Regions from separate parts of the Homo sapiens genome. Here region 1 is linked to region 2. Evidence: promoter capture Hi-C in 16 types of primary human blood cells and fetal thymus (Javierre and others, 2016). All regions are on one chromosome and are shown on one strand. Each heading gives the region's core, a stretch centred on a gene start or on the middle of the fragment in contact. The rest is flanking DNA. Distances are from core to core; before and after follow the strand shown.

Region 1 (6,655 bases), core at 564-3,063, 2.7 Mb before region 2:
AACTACTAATCAACTTTTTCTCTTTTAGATTTGCTTTTTTGGACTTTTCACACAAATGGAATCCTACAATATGTGGGTTTTCTGTCTGGCTTCTCTCACTTAGCATGATGTTTTTGAGGTTGAGCATCCATGTTATCACATGTATCAGTATTTTGCTCCTTTTTGTTACTGAATAGCATTCCGTTACATGGATCCTGTAGCAGTTTTTTTGTTTGTTTGTTTGTTTGTTTTGGTTTGGTTTTTGGCTTAAATTTAGATGGCCCAAAAGTATAGCCACTTCTTACTGTGTGTCAGATGTGGCTATGAAAATGTGTGGTAGATACTAATCAAATATGGCCTCCAACAATTCTTCCCCTCTCTGTATACAGATTGAGAGGTGGAGTCTATTTCTCCTCCCCTAGAATCTGGGCTGGCCCTATCACTTGTCTTGTCCAAAAGGATGTAGCACCAGCTGGTGGGGCATGGTGGCTCATATCTGTAATCCCAGTACTTTGGGAGGCTGAGGCAGGCAGATAGCTTGAGCTCAGAAGTTTGAGACCAGCCTGGGCAACATGACAAAACCTCGTCTCCACAAAAAAATTTAAAGAAATTAGCCGGGTGTGGTGGCATATGCCTGTGGTCCCAGTTCCTTGGGAGGCTGAGGTGGGAGGATGGCTTGAGCCCAGGAGGCGGAGGTTGCAGTGAGCCAAGATTGCACCACTGCACTCCAGCCTGGGCAACAGAGCCAGACCCTGTCAAGGGAAGCGAAGGGGAGGGGAGGGGAGGGGAGGGGAGGGGAGGGGAGGGGAGGGAAAGGAATGGAATTCTGAGACTTCTAAACCCAGACCTTAAGAGAATTGCAAATTCTGCTTCCTCTTCTTAGAAGCCAGCTGTCATGCTGTAATGAAGCTGGCGCTACCCAAAAAGATATGTTGAAGTCCTAACCTCTGGTACCTATAACTGTGAGCTTATTTGGAAATAGGCTCTTTGCAGATGGAATCAAGTTAAGATGAGGTCACTAGGGTGGGACCTAATCCAGTTTGACTGGCATCCTTATGAGAAAAGGAAAGTCATGTGAAAACAGAGATGCACAGCAAAAATGTCACATAGTGACAGAGGCAGAGATGAGAGTGACACAGCTGCAAACCAAGGAATGCCAAGGACTGCTGGCCACCACCAAAAGCTGGGAGACAGGCATGAACCAATTCTCCTCCAGAGCCTTTGGAGGGAGCACAGCTCTGTTGACTCCTTGATTTCAGACTTCTGGCCACCATAACTGTGAAAGAATCAATGTCTGTCATTTTAAGCCATCCAGTTTGTGGTGTTTTGTTTGTTAAGGCAGCCCTAGAAATTAATACCCCTGTTCAGGAGCTGGGATTTTACTCTGGGTGCAAGAGAAATTCCTGGAGCTCCAAGCAGGGGTGTGGCATCATTTGATTTGCACATGGAAAATGCATGTGTGTGGTCTCAAGAAGAGCTGATCAAATAAAACAGGGAAGCCAACTGGAGGTATACAATGTTGGTGACCATAACCAGGGTGGTGACAGTGGCCTTGGTAAAAATGCACAGATTTGGAAGATATTTTGGAGACAGATCAGCATGACTTGATGGTGGATCAGAAGTGAAGAATGAAGGAAAGAGGTCTCAAGGACACATATAGATTTTTGGATGACATCTAAGGTTTTTGCCAATTCTCAGAGCTTATGGCATCCATGAGAAGAGTGTTTCTGTGTCTGGAGATGCCATAGGTGAATTCCTGGATGATTCCAGGAGTGAATGTGGGTGCATCAGAAAATTTCACCCATCTTGGCCCCACTATTTGGTTCCCACTGTGAGCCAGTGCTGGCTGGTCTCCCTCAGTCCAGCTGCCCAAAAGTAATAAATAATCCCTTCATGTTTGTCTCATCAATAAATATATTCTTTTTTTTTTCCAGAAAAAAGAGAAGAAGAAGTTGAGGCTAGACTACTGGATAAGATATCACAGGCAGAAAGCTCTGCACAATATGAGGCCATCTTGGATGTTCCAGCTCCAGCCAAGCTCCCAGCTGAATACAGCTGCATGAATGACCACAGCTCCACCACATGGAGCAGAGAAACCACCGAGCTTAGCCCAGTCAACTCACATAATCATGAGAAATAATGCATGATAGTTGCTTTGAGCCACTCCATTTTGGTTGTGTTTGTTTGTTTGTTTGAGATGGAGTTTTGCTCTTGTTGCCCAGGCTGGAGTGCAATGGTGTGATCTCGGCTCACTGCAACCTCTGCCTCCTGGGTTCAAGCGATTCTCCTGCCTCAGCCTCCCGAGTAGCTGGGATTACAGGCATGTGCCACCACACCTGGCTAATTTTGTATTTTTAGTAGAGATGAGGTTTCTCCATGTTGATCAGGCTGGTCTCAAACTCCCAACCTCAGGTAATCCGCCCACATCGGCCTCCCAAAGTGCTGGGATTACAGGTGTGAGCCACTGCATCTGGCCAGCTTTGGTTTTTTATGGTGTGTTATGCAGCATTGGTAACTGAAACATCATGATTTCACCAGTCTTTCTCCTTCCCTTAATTCTTGTTAATTATGTTCTCTTTTAATTTTTATAGTTTTATTCCATTCTATGGAGATTTCTAGTGGACCCTAAATTTAACATCACTTTCTTGGCTGTTTGTGGCACATTGAAGAGTTTTATGTCAATCTGCTTCCTGATATTCATATGCTGAAATCTTGGGACAACATTTTCTAAATGGTCTGAAGAGAATCGCCTGGAGAGCTTTATAAAAATTGATTCTCCATTCTCCCCTCCACGCCCTCACAGTGATGGATAAGAAACTGGTATCCAGCTGCTCCCGAAACAGTGTACAAGTTAATTTGATAATCTCACCAAGAAAGCTATTTCAATAACTCAATTAAGTATTTCCTGAATTTTGATTAAAGGAAAAAACAGCATGCTAAACCCTATGCATAAAGATACAAAAACTATCAAAATATAACCCTTACCCTCAAAAAGTTTATAATTAGATTGCAAAAAAAAATGCATGGCAATATGTGATTAACATTCAATCAACCCTTGAAGTTGACTAACAAATCGCCCTTCAAGTTTCACCCTCAGCATGCCCTTTGAGTTGTCCAACTCTAGGGGGCACCATTCACAAAGAAAACCACATGAACGGTGCCTCCCTAGAGCTGTTTAACAGACTGCATTCAATTGCAAAGATAAAAAGGGCTATGACTATTCCTGCATATAGTTCAAGAGTTGGAACTTGTTGCTCATCTTTGTCGATTCACATTCTCCGCCCAGCACCTGGCACAACACGGGTGCTCAATAAAGCTAAGTCAGTGAACATCACTGAGATGACAAAATTTCAATGGGCTTTGGTGGTCAAGGAAGCCTTCATGAAGGAGAGGAGAGGAGACTGAAGGAGGAGAGGAAACTGAAGTTGGACACTGGAGAAAGGGATGAAGTGAAAGAGGCATCATAGGAGCTAAATAGGCCTAATGAAGCGTTGCTTCCTTCAATGGAGAAGAAATCCTCAATGTGGAACTAGATGAATACACTGATCAGCAAATACCACTGGATTCATGCTTACCCAGGAGCCTTAAAAACTGCCTTCCTCAATTCCAGTCATCTGCATGCACCTCAGATAAGATAAAGATACAAAGAGGAAGAAAGTAAGTGCCACCATAACAACACCCCACATGGAAGGGTCTATCTCCTGCTTTGAGCAACACAGTTCTCTAGAATCACAGATCAGGGGAGTCCAAGGACTCTCTTTACAGTTTTTTTTGTTTTTGGGGGGGTTTTTTTGGTTTTTTTTGAGACGGATTCTCGCTCTGTCGCCCAGGCTGGAGTGCAGTGGCGCGATCTCGGCTCACTGCAAGCTCCGCCTCCCAGGTTCACACCATTCTCCTGCCTCAGCCTCCCGAGTAGCTGGGACTACAGGCACCCGCCACCACGCCCAGCTAATTTTTTGTATTTTTAGTAGAGACGGGGTTTCACCGTGTTAGCCAGGATGGTTGATCTCCTGACCTTGTAATCTGCCCGCCTTGGCCTCCCAAAGTGCTGGGATTACAGGTGTGAGCTACCGCGCCCAGCCTACAGCTTTTTAAATTGGAGTGGCAAGAACTACAGAGCTGCAATATTGAGCTATGTCTCCATCTCATTGTACCTCTGCTGTATTTGAATGGGAGCTCCCAAAAAATGAGACTAATCCTAATTTCTCATCTTCTGATATCATCAGAGTCTGTAGAGGACTTCAGATGGCTGAGAAGCCAAGCGAAGTCTGAAGAAGACATGTGTTTGAAGCAGGAGGCACCCAAAGATGGTCACACAACTTTAGTTGGAGCCCCCAGCACTCGATGGCAAAACATAATGCTTCCATGCTGGTTTGAGAGGCTGCTCAGGCATAGGTCAGAAGAAATGCGTGCTCAGGAAAATATGCGAATTAAAATATAAAATACATCCCCCAACATGAACCCTCTGTCAGCAGGCTGATATAGACTGCTACCACGTCATATCAGTGGCTAGACTGTTAAGTAGGTGAAGATCTAAAGCAAGGGTATCTTATTGACTCATGGGTTTACAGACCCTTCCTACAAAACCAACAAGTCCCTGAGAAGGAAAAACAAGCATAACTTTCTATTGGTCTAAGACAAAGTACAACTCAGCCATGGGTGACATTCTGTGCAAATGCCATGGACCAATTTCTACAGTGTTCATGAGTCTAGAGTGGGAGGAGTGGGTGGGAGAAGGTGGGCCCTGTGCAATTTGGATACTTCACAAATGTGAAATATTTATTTGTAATTTATTTATTATTTGTCCCAGACAAATGTGGCCAGGCCTAAGGTATTACAAATAAATATTCTAGAGAAAGTTGTTGTGTTAGGCACAGAGGTTGTGACCAGGACACCCACTGGAAGAAATGAAATGGGAAGAGAGAACCAAGCATGTATGGCTGAGCCCCTTCTGGGGACGGCATCTTTCTTTCACAGTGGCCCCTTCTTGGGAAGTAGGCATTGTCTTCCACACACAGTAAGCTGCCACCTTGCTGTGCTGGCCCAGATCTGCCCACGACTCTTTCAGTAAGTGTAAGTTTCATTCCCCAGTTACCTCTATTAGGAACAAAGCTGTTCTTCATCAATTTATTCCATGTTTCATTACCCAGGAAAGAGGGGTGTTGTATATGCTCCTTCCAAAGCCCCTAGAGTGACCTTCTGGCCCTCCCATGCCTTCTGAGGAAGAATCAGAGAAAAGACTTTGCTCTGTCTAACTTCTGGAAACTGTTGCAATGATCTCAGTGTTGGGTAAAATGAAAAGCTGGAAGAGCCCAAGAAAGGTCAAATTAATTTACTCATGAGAAAGAGTATGGAGCTCATCTGGAAAGAATATAATAGACCTCGGAGGTGAGAGGAAAAATCAAAGGGCTAGAGTTTACAGAAAAGAGGCTGCAGAGAGACATTGAGAAGCAGCTAGGGTGCTGAGGTGGCCTTCAGGAAGAGAGATCTATAAAGATGATCCCGGGTGGTGCAGTTATCCTTTGGCTCCCTCTCCAAGAGGCATCTGTCTTGATCAACATACGTTGTTTTTCAAGGTGGGTGATTTTTTCAGCCAGACTTGGATTTCCTTTGGATGTCTCAGTATGCTGAGAGTGGCGTATAGGACAGCTCTGTTTCACTCAAGTTATAATACATTGGGACTGGCTAAAAAAGATAAAGGAAAGGGAAACATTTCCCAGAGTGCTTTGCAGAACACTGGTACCCACTTAGAGATTTACAATGGATATTAACATTCCAGTCAAGGTTCTGGAAAAATGGTCAGCAAAAGAGCTTATATGTCTTTAATCAGCAGCTCCCAAATGTAATGTGCCACAGAGCTTTTTTCATGTAAGACATCTTGAGAACCCTGGCACAAAGGACAAAACAATAAGATTCAAAATTACTGCTTGGTGATATGAGGAGAGAGCACATTAGATATTATCAAAAGAAAATTATAGCATTCATATGTCTGCCTATGAAGAAACTGTTTTAACTTCAGCTTCAGTTAAAAGTTAACTGTTGGCCAGGCATGATGGTTCACGCCTATAATCCCAGCACTTTGGGAGGCCGAGGCGGGCGGATCACCTGAGGTCAGGAGTTCGAGACCAGCCTGACCAACATGGAGAAACCCTGTCTCTACTTAAAATACAAAATTAGCCAGGCATGGTGGCACATGCCTGTAATCCCAGCTACTTGGGAGGCTGAGGCAGGAGATTCACTTGAATCCGGGAGGCAGAGGTTGCAGTGAGCCGAGATCACACCATTGCACTCCAGCCTGGGCAACAAGAGTCAAACTCCATCTCAAAAAAAAAACAAAGTTAACTGTTTTAATGTTAACTTCAACCAAGAGGAACTCCTGTCATAAAAGAAATTGGATGGAGGAAAGGAAGTTGGCGGAGAGGGAGGAGGTGACGAGAAATCATCTGCCATGGCCACAAGAGAACGGGAGAGTGCAGCTCTTGCAGAAAAAGAGCTAAAGACACAAGTCTCCTGCTTGTTGGAGAGAAAAGAAGCTTTGCACAGGCAGGGCCAATGTATGCTACATTAGAGGGAAGCCTTCCATGAAATCAATAGAGGAAAACACAATACTTAAAGACTGCATAAGCAAAGATTAGAATTTATGAGTAAGGCCTTGGAAGCAAGAAAAGGCTGAGAC
Region 2 (6,431 bases), core at 788-3,287:
TCTGAAGCTTAGAATAGTTTAAAGATCACTGGAGATGGTTTTTGCAGTGAGTGTCAATATGTCTCTGTAAGGTTTTAACAGTAAAACGTGCTGCCACTGAAGTTTTCTTGTGCAGAATCAAAAGGTATGTGTGGAAGGCAGAGCTGAGGGAGGTGTTAGATACATTTTCAAGTTGGGTTTACCCCACAGCAAAATATTTTGATGCTGTTAATATGTGTGCTATTCATTAGAAGAGATATCACTTCTTGAATTGCTTCCCAGTGAGTATTTGAGTACCAATTAAATACTTGATAGTTGAAGTAACCAGGCATATATTGTGTATTAAACTATCTTAATGACCCACATAATCTGCTATGCAATAAATTTGTGGGAGAAAAGTATTGATAGATGGTTTGGATTGAGTAGTCATAGATATTTACACTGAGATTTAAATAACAGAAGTAGTGAGCCTTTTGGAAATACAGGAAGACCTTTCAAGGAGGGGTAAGTGCAAAGACATCAAAGTATGAATGAGATTGGCCTGCTAGAGGACCAGAAAGAAGGCCATGTGAGGTTGGAGTGGAGGAGTCTGGGGCAGAGTGGTAGAACATGAGGTGGAGAGGGGTGAAGATCATATAATGCTTTGCAAGTCAGGATGAGGAATCTAGATTCAGTGCTTAGTAAGATTAGGAGTCATTAGTGTATTTTAAGGGGAAAAATACTCTGGTTGGTGGTGAACTATGGAGTAGAGGAAGGCAAGAGAAGATAGGGTGGGGATTAAGTGGTAGACATTAAGTTGACTGGGGCAGCTGTCTAGGACTGGGTTGTAGTAATGGGGATGGAGAAGAGTGGATGAATTTAGGAACAGTTGAGGGAAAGATGGTGTGGTGAAGGAAGCCAGGTGAGCAAGCAGGTCTAAGCGGGAAAGCATTGCTTTTCCTACAGGAATTTTCCTGTGCATTCAGGCTGTAAGGATCTCAACTTTTAAAAAAGCCACATTGTTCTCCCAAGTTGTTGGGGAGCTGGTTCACCATTGACTTCTGATCTCTGGAGATATTTTCATAATCATGGAGCTGTCTTTCTTTTCACTCTTTTACTCTCTTTCTAGACAGGCTTCTTGGATACCAAGGGTTGGTGGTGGGTGGGGGGAGGTTCTGGGGATGGTTAAATTTGCCTGGGCAGCCTCAAAGTTCAAAAAGGAGGGACAGGGAAGCTTAGCTAAGAACCAGGAGTTTGACATACTTAATCTCTCATTTCATCCTACTGATGACTTTGTGAGGTATATCTTTTTAATCCTAGATCTACAAAAGAGAAAGCTGAGGCTTGGAGAGGTTCTTCATTTTGTTCAAAGTCATACAACTTTTACGTGGTGTAGCCAGGATGGGAACCAGAGCCTGGCTCTCTGCACTTCCAACACCACTGCTGAATCCGGGTTTGTCTGTTTTCCCTCTCTTCTTTTAACTATTGTCACACAGATTCCATCATAGAACCCATCACGTGGAGGGCCACTATTTCTCTTTCTTTTGTATAGTATGTTTGCTTCCCCTACCCCACAGAGTAAGGTGCTCAGCAAATGTGGCTGTCTGGAGGCAACACCCCCTTCTCACCGCCACACTTGGGGTTGGGGTGCGAGGCAAGGCAGGGCTGGCGAGGTGGATGTTGCAGCTGTCACCACTGCTAGGTGTTGGGAAACGACTCTCCTGCCTGTGCATTGACCCGAAGGCATTTTCCATTTCCTAGGCCCCTCCCGCTTCCCGTCCCTCACCTCTAGCCCCTCGGCTTCAGCTCAGGCCCCTCGGGGAGCATCCCTTGCCGTGAGACTGACAGCCTTTGGGGGCGCAGGGTCCTGTTCTCTGCGCTCTAGCCCATCTGTGCGCAGAGCCTCGTTCCCAGGCGCCTGGAACCCGGCGGGCATTGACGTCAAGCGCCGGCGGAGCGCTGCCTACAGACGGTTGACCCGGGCCCTCCTCCACACCCCCTTCCTTCTTCGCCTCCTCCCTCTTTCCTGCACGGGGGCTCGGGCTCACTATAAAAGGTGGGAGCGCGTGGTGCCCCAGCAACGACGAGTTTCAGAACGATGGAGAGCTCCCGCGTGAGGCTGCTGCCCCTCCTGGGCGCCGCCCTGCTGCTGATGCTACCTCTGTTGGGTACCCGTGCCCAGGAGGACGCCGAGCTCCAGCCCCGAGCCCTGGACATCTACTCTGCCGTGGATGATGCCTCCCACGAGAAGGAGCTGGTCGGTATTCCCCTCGCTCTCGACCCCCTTGAGCTGTCGCCTTGTCTCTTCTCTTGCACGCCTCCCTCCTCCCCCCACCCCCACTCCTATTCCCAGAGTCAGGGCGCGGGGAGCTGAGCGCAACGCCCAGGCACCCACTGCCATCCGAAGAGCGTCTCGAGCTCACGGGCTCCTGGCAGTCTGTTGAGCGAATCCCTCATCCCGGCCCCTCTGAGCAACAGGGACCCCAGCGGCTCAGAGACCCGCGGTCAGTACCTGGGACAGCGTCCGCTAAGTTTCCACCCCTCGACCATTCCCTGTGTCCGCGGAGTCCCACCGCAGAGTGCGTGTGGGTCCGGGGCTCCTTATAACTAGGGCTGGAAGTGCGCACCTGGGCTGGGCTCGCAGCCAAGGCGGCAACTTCAGGCTCCGAAGCGGTGTGTTGCAGATCGAAGCGCTGCAAGAAGTCTTGAAGAAGCTCAAGAGTAAACGTGTTCCCATCTATGAGAAGAAGTATGGCCAAGTCCCCATGGTAAGGTTTGTGGTCACTCCCTTCCCGTGTTTTTCCAAGAGAAAGTACACCGCCTTGAATCGTACACACAGTCTTCTCCGTAGGATGTGGCTAAATAACTTAGGTAATGGGCTTGCAGGATTCTGTGGGCTCCTTCTTCCTTCCCGGGTGAGGAAATGGGAAAGCAGGAACAGGGGTTGTAAGAAAGTGTAAGTCTATTGTTTGTTGCTCAGGAAAAAGGTCTGATTTTTTTCCCCTCTGAGAGGGCAAGAAAAGGAGCCAGGAAATGTGATGCTCCCCTTCCCACGCCCCCCAACCCTCGCCACTTAAAGGTGGAAGAAACTAGGATAAAACTAATAATGTAAGTTTCTTTAAAAAATGTACTCTCACTGAGGTTATAAGCACAAGGCTCCCTGTTTCAGATCTGACTGTACGTAGACCTCTTGTGATGGTGATGGGGTCCAATTGCCCCTTTCAAGAGACAGAAATTGCGTTGACTGTGAGACTTGCCTGTTGGGAACCTGGGTTTGTTCATACTCGATGACCACACATTTTGTTGTTTCAGTGTGACGCCGGTGAGCAGTGTGCAGTGAGGAAAGGGGCAAGGATCGGGAAGCTGTGTGACTGTCCCCGAGGAACCTCCTGCAATTCCTTCCTCCTGAAGTGCTTATGAAGGGGCGTCCATTCTCCTCCATACATCCCCATCCCTCTACTTTCCCCAGAGGACCACACCTTCCTCCCTGGAGTTTGGCTTAAGCAACAGATAAAGTTTTTATTTTCCTCTGAAGGGAAAGGGCTCTTTTCCTGCTGTTTCAAAAATAAAAGAACACATTAGATGTTACTGTGTGAAGAATAATGCCTTGTATGGTGTTGATACGTGTGTGAAGTATTCTTATTTTATTTGTCTGACAAACTCTTGTGTACCTTTGTGTAAAGAAGGGAAGCTTTGTTTGAAAATTGTATTTTTGTATGTGGCATGGCAGAATGAAAATTAGATCTAGCTAATCTCGGTAGATGTCATTACAACCTGGAAAATAAATCACCCTAAGTGACACAAATTGAAGCATGTACAAATTATACATAATAAAGTGTTTTTAATAATTGCCCATAGTGCACTGCTGTTTTCATATAAGTAATTTAAGTGGAAATGGTGAGATTAATCATGCTGTTGTTTTCAAAGAAAAATATTTTAAAAATAGCAGCCTATTGGGAAAATGGCACCTTAGCTCCAAGGAGTTTTGATCGTTAATTAGAAGTTTGCCAAGCCAGTTTTAGTATACTCTATTTTTCTTTGATTGCAGCGATGTGGTGTGTGTATGTGTGTGTGTATGTGTGTGTGTGTGTGTGTGTGAGAGAGAGAGAGAGAAAGAGAGAGATGAATGAGATGGAGATGGTTGGAGTTGAGGTTATATAATTTTGTTTATTAAAACCTTTAGCCAGACCCTTTACTTTAAACAGTGAGACCAATAAACTATAAACAGTTTCATGTTTTAGTCACATTAAAAGCAATTTGAAAAATTAGAAATTTTGTTTTGACAACTCCCTTATTAGAAAATATACATTGATTTAAAGATATGGGCTGTTTAGGGTTGTTATTTGTCTAAAGACTCCAAGGTTATAAGACCCATTCATTCCCACAAGTAAATTCACACTCTTGGAAAAAATTCTCTATTCCAGGAGAAAGAGTCATTTCAGAAAATAGTTTTGAGGGGAACAAATAAAAATTGGAGGAGGTGAGAATTCAACTCAAGAAATTAAAACATATTAAATGTAAAGTTAAGTAGCTTTTAAATATTTCTGAGTGCTTATTTGAGGTCACATTTCCAAGGGTTTAAACCAGACTAAGTAACATCTAAGTAGCAGCATCATGAGAGAAATAAATGTTAACAGCTTCCTAATCCAAACTCAAGAGGCACTTGCATAATAGCAGAATTGAAAAATAAAGCCCCTCCACGGATTCATAGGGAGTTTTCTGATAGAAAATATTCTTATACACAGTTACCATTTTCAGTGTGATTATTATTATTAGCATGCCTAATCTTGCAAGATAGATATTATTACTATTTTTCAGAGTAGAAAACAGAGGGCAAGAGAATTATGGAATTTGCTTACACCATATAATCCTAAATAATAATTTTAGCTGTAATCCCTTTGACTCCAAAGATTTGTCCTTTTTCTCCATGTCACTTAGGCAATCAACAGACTGGGCTTTGAATTCCCCAGAAAGCACATCTTTCCTTAATAAAAATTGCTCACTGGGGGCCAAGGTGTATTTTTTGGGGCTGTGTTTCCGTTTGAATTCCCCTACACAAGCCTATATGTGATTAGAATGTGGTATTTTTGTTTGTTTCTTTTCTTTTCTTTTCTTTTTTTTTTTTTTTTTGAGACAGGGTCTCACTCTGTCACCCAGGCTGAAGTGCAGTGGCACAATTACGGCTCACTGCAGCTTCGATCTCCCAGGCTCAAGTGATCCTCCCACCTCAGGCTTCTAAGTAGCTTGGACCACAAGCATGCACCACCATGCCTGGCTAACTTTTGTATTTTTAGTAGAGACGGAGCTTCGCCATGTTGTCCAGGCTGATCTCAAACTCCTGGGCTTAAGCGATCTGCCCACCTTGGCCTCCCAAAGTGCTGGGATTACAGGCGCGACACACGTCGCCCAGGCAGAATGGGATATGTTTTAATTTTTAATAAGTGCAAGTAGTTATTTAATAGTTTCACAGTCTGCTACTTTTCCAGAAATCATTTCAGTTAGAATATTCTTGAGCCCCTTAACTATTCCTATCTATCACTCCTAAATAAGTCAGATCAGGAAATTGCTTTAGTGAACAGGCAGTACCGTCAGGGCTAACACACAGAACTGCTTTCTCTCCTTATTATTTTTTTTAGAGACAAGGTCTCACTCTGTTGCCTAGGCTGGAGTGCAGTGGTGCCATCCTGGCTCACTGCAGACTCAAATTCCTGGGCTTAAGGAAACCTCCCACCTCAGCCTCCCAAGTAGCTAGGACTATAGATGCACACAACCACACCTGGCTGATTTTTTAAAATTAATTTTTGGAGAGATGGGGTCTTGCTTTATTGCCCAGGCTAGGTCTTGACCTCCTGGGCTCAGGCAATCCTGCCTCTGCCTTCCAAAGCACTGAAATTACAGGTATGAGCCATCACACCTGGCCAGAACTGCTTTCCCTTTTAGCCTGGTGTGTTTCCCCAAAAGCAAGAGATGCTGGAGGAATCTGGAGTTCAAAGAAAAGAATATAAACTTGACTCTAAACCTTTTTAGCTTGTTCCCCTCACCCCTGCCTTTACTCTGTCATCCCTCCTTTCTTGTTTGATGAGACTAAGGGATATGGACAAGTGGCTATAGGAAATTGGTAATGGGGAATCTGTGGGCTCTGTATGAAGAGGCTTTTTTTTTTTTCCAAAAATTTTGTCTGGGGGCCCAGATTTTCAGTTAATGGTGTTAATATGTTCTGCACTAATGATAGCAGCACTTAATTTTTGATGGCTTGTTAAAAGTAACTTTGCCTTCCCATTTTATCAATACTGGAGTGATCAATCTTGGTGAGTATTGGGGTAGAAGATCAGAGCTGGAGTCCAAGTTTCTGCCCTGTCATACAGTCATAGCTGCTGATCCCATGGGGTGAGTGGCTCATACATCCCATAACCCAAGGGCCAGGTTCCTTTCTCAGAGGTTAACATCTAATCCTATATCCTGGACATTGCTCA

Evidence for each region. The method cuts DNA at HindIII sites, captures the fragments that hold promoters and counts their contacts. A CHiCAGO score of 5 or more calls a contact.
Region 1: a contact is called between a fragment that was not itself captured here and the fragment with the promoter of CARTPT in region 2, in 1 of 17 cell types (non-activated CD4 T cells). The highest score is 5.6, in non-activated CD4 T cells.

Annotation. Positions count from the first base shown.
Region 1 is chr5:69,021,246-69,027,900 of GRCh38, forward strand. The region is part of intron 1 of LINC02198 (long intergenic non-protein coding RNA 2198); the gene reads right to left. Among named protein-coding and RNA genes, the nearest start is that of LINC02198, 5.4 kb to the right of the region's middle. The HindIII fragment of the contact is 9,394 bases long and covers 1-6,510 here.
Region 2 is chr5:71,717,238-71,723,668 of GRCh38, forward strand. It overlaps CARTPT (CART prepropeptide), which reads left to right and starts at 2,038. Exons shown (of 3, transcript NM_004291.4): 1 at 2,038-2,215; 2 at 2,643-2,726; 3 at 3,271-3,808. The coding sequence starts at 2,057. The coding sequence ends at 3,378. RefSeq lists an enhancer at 2,176-3,062. The HindIII fragment of the contact is 2,457 bases long and covers 1,191-3,647 here.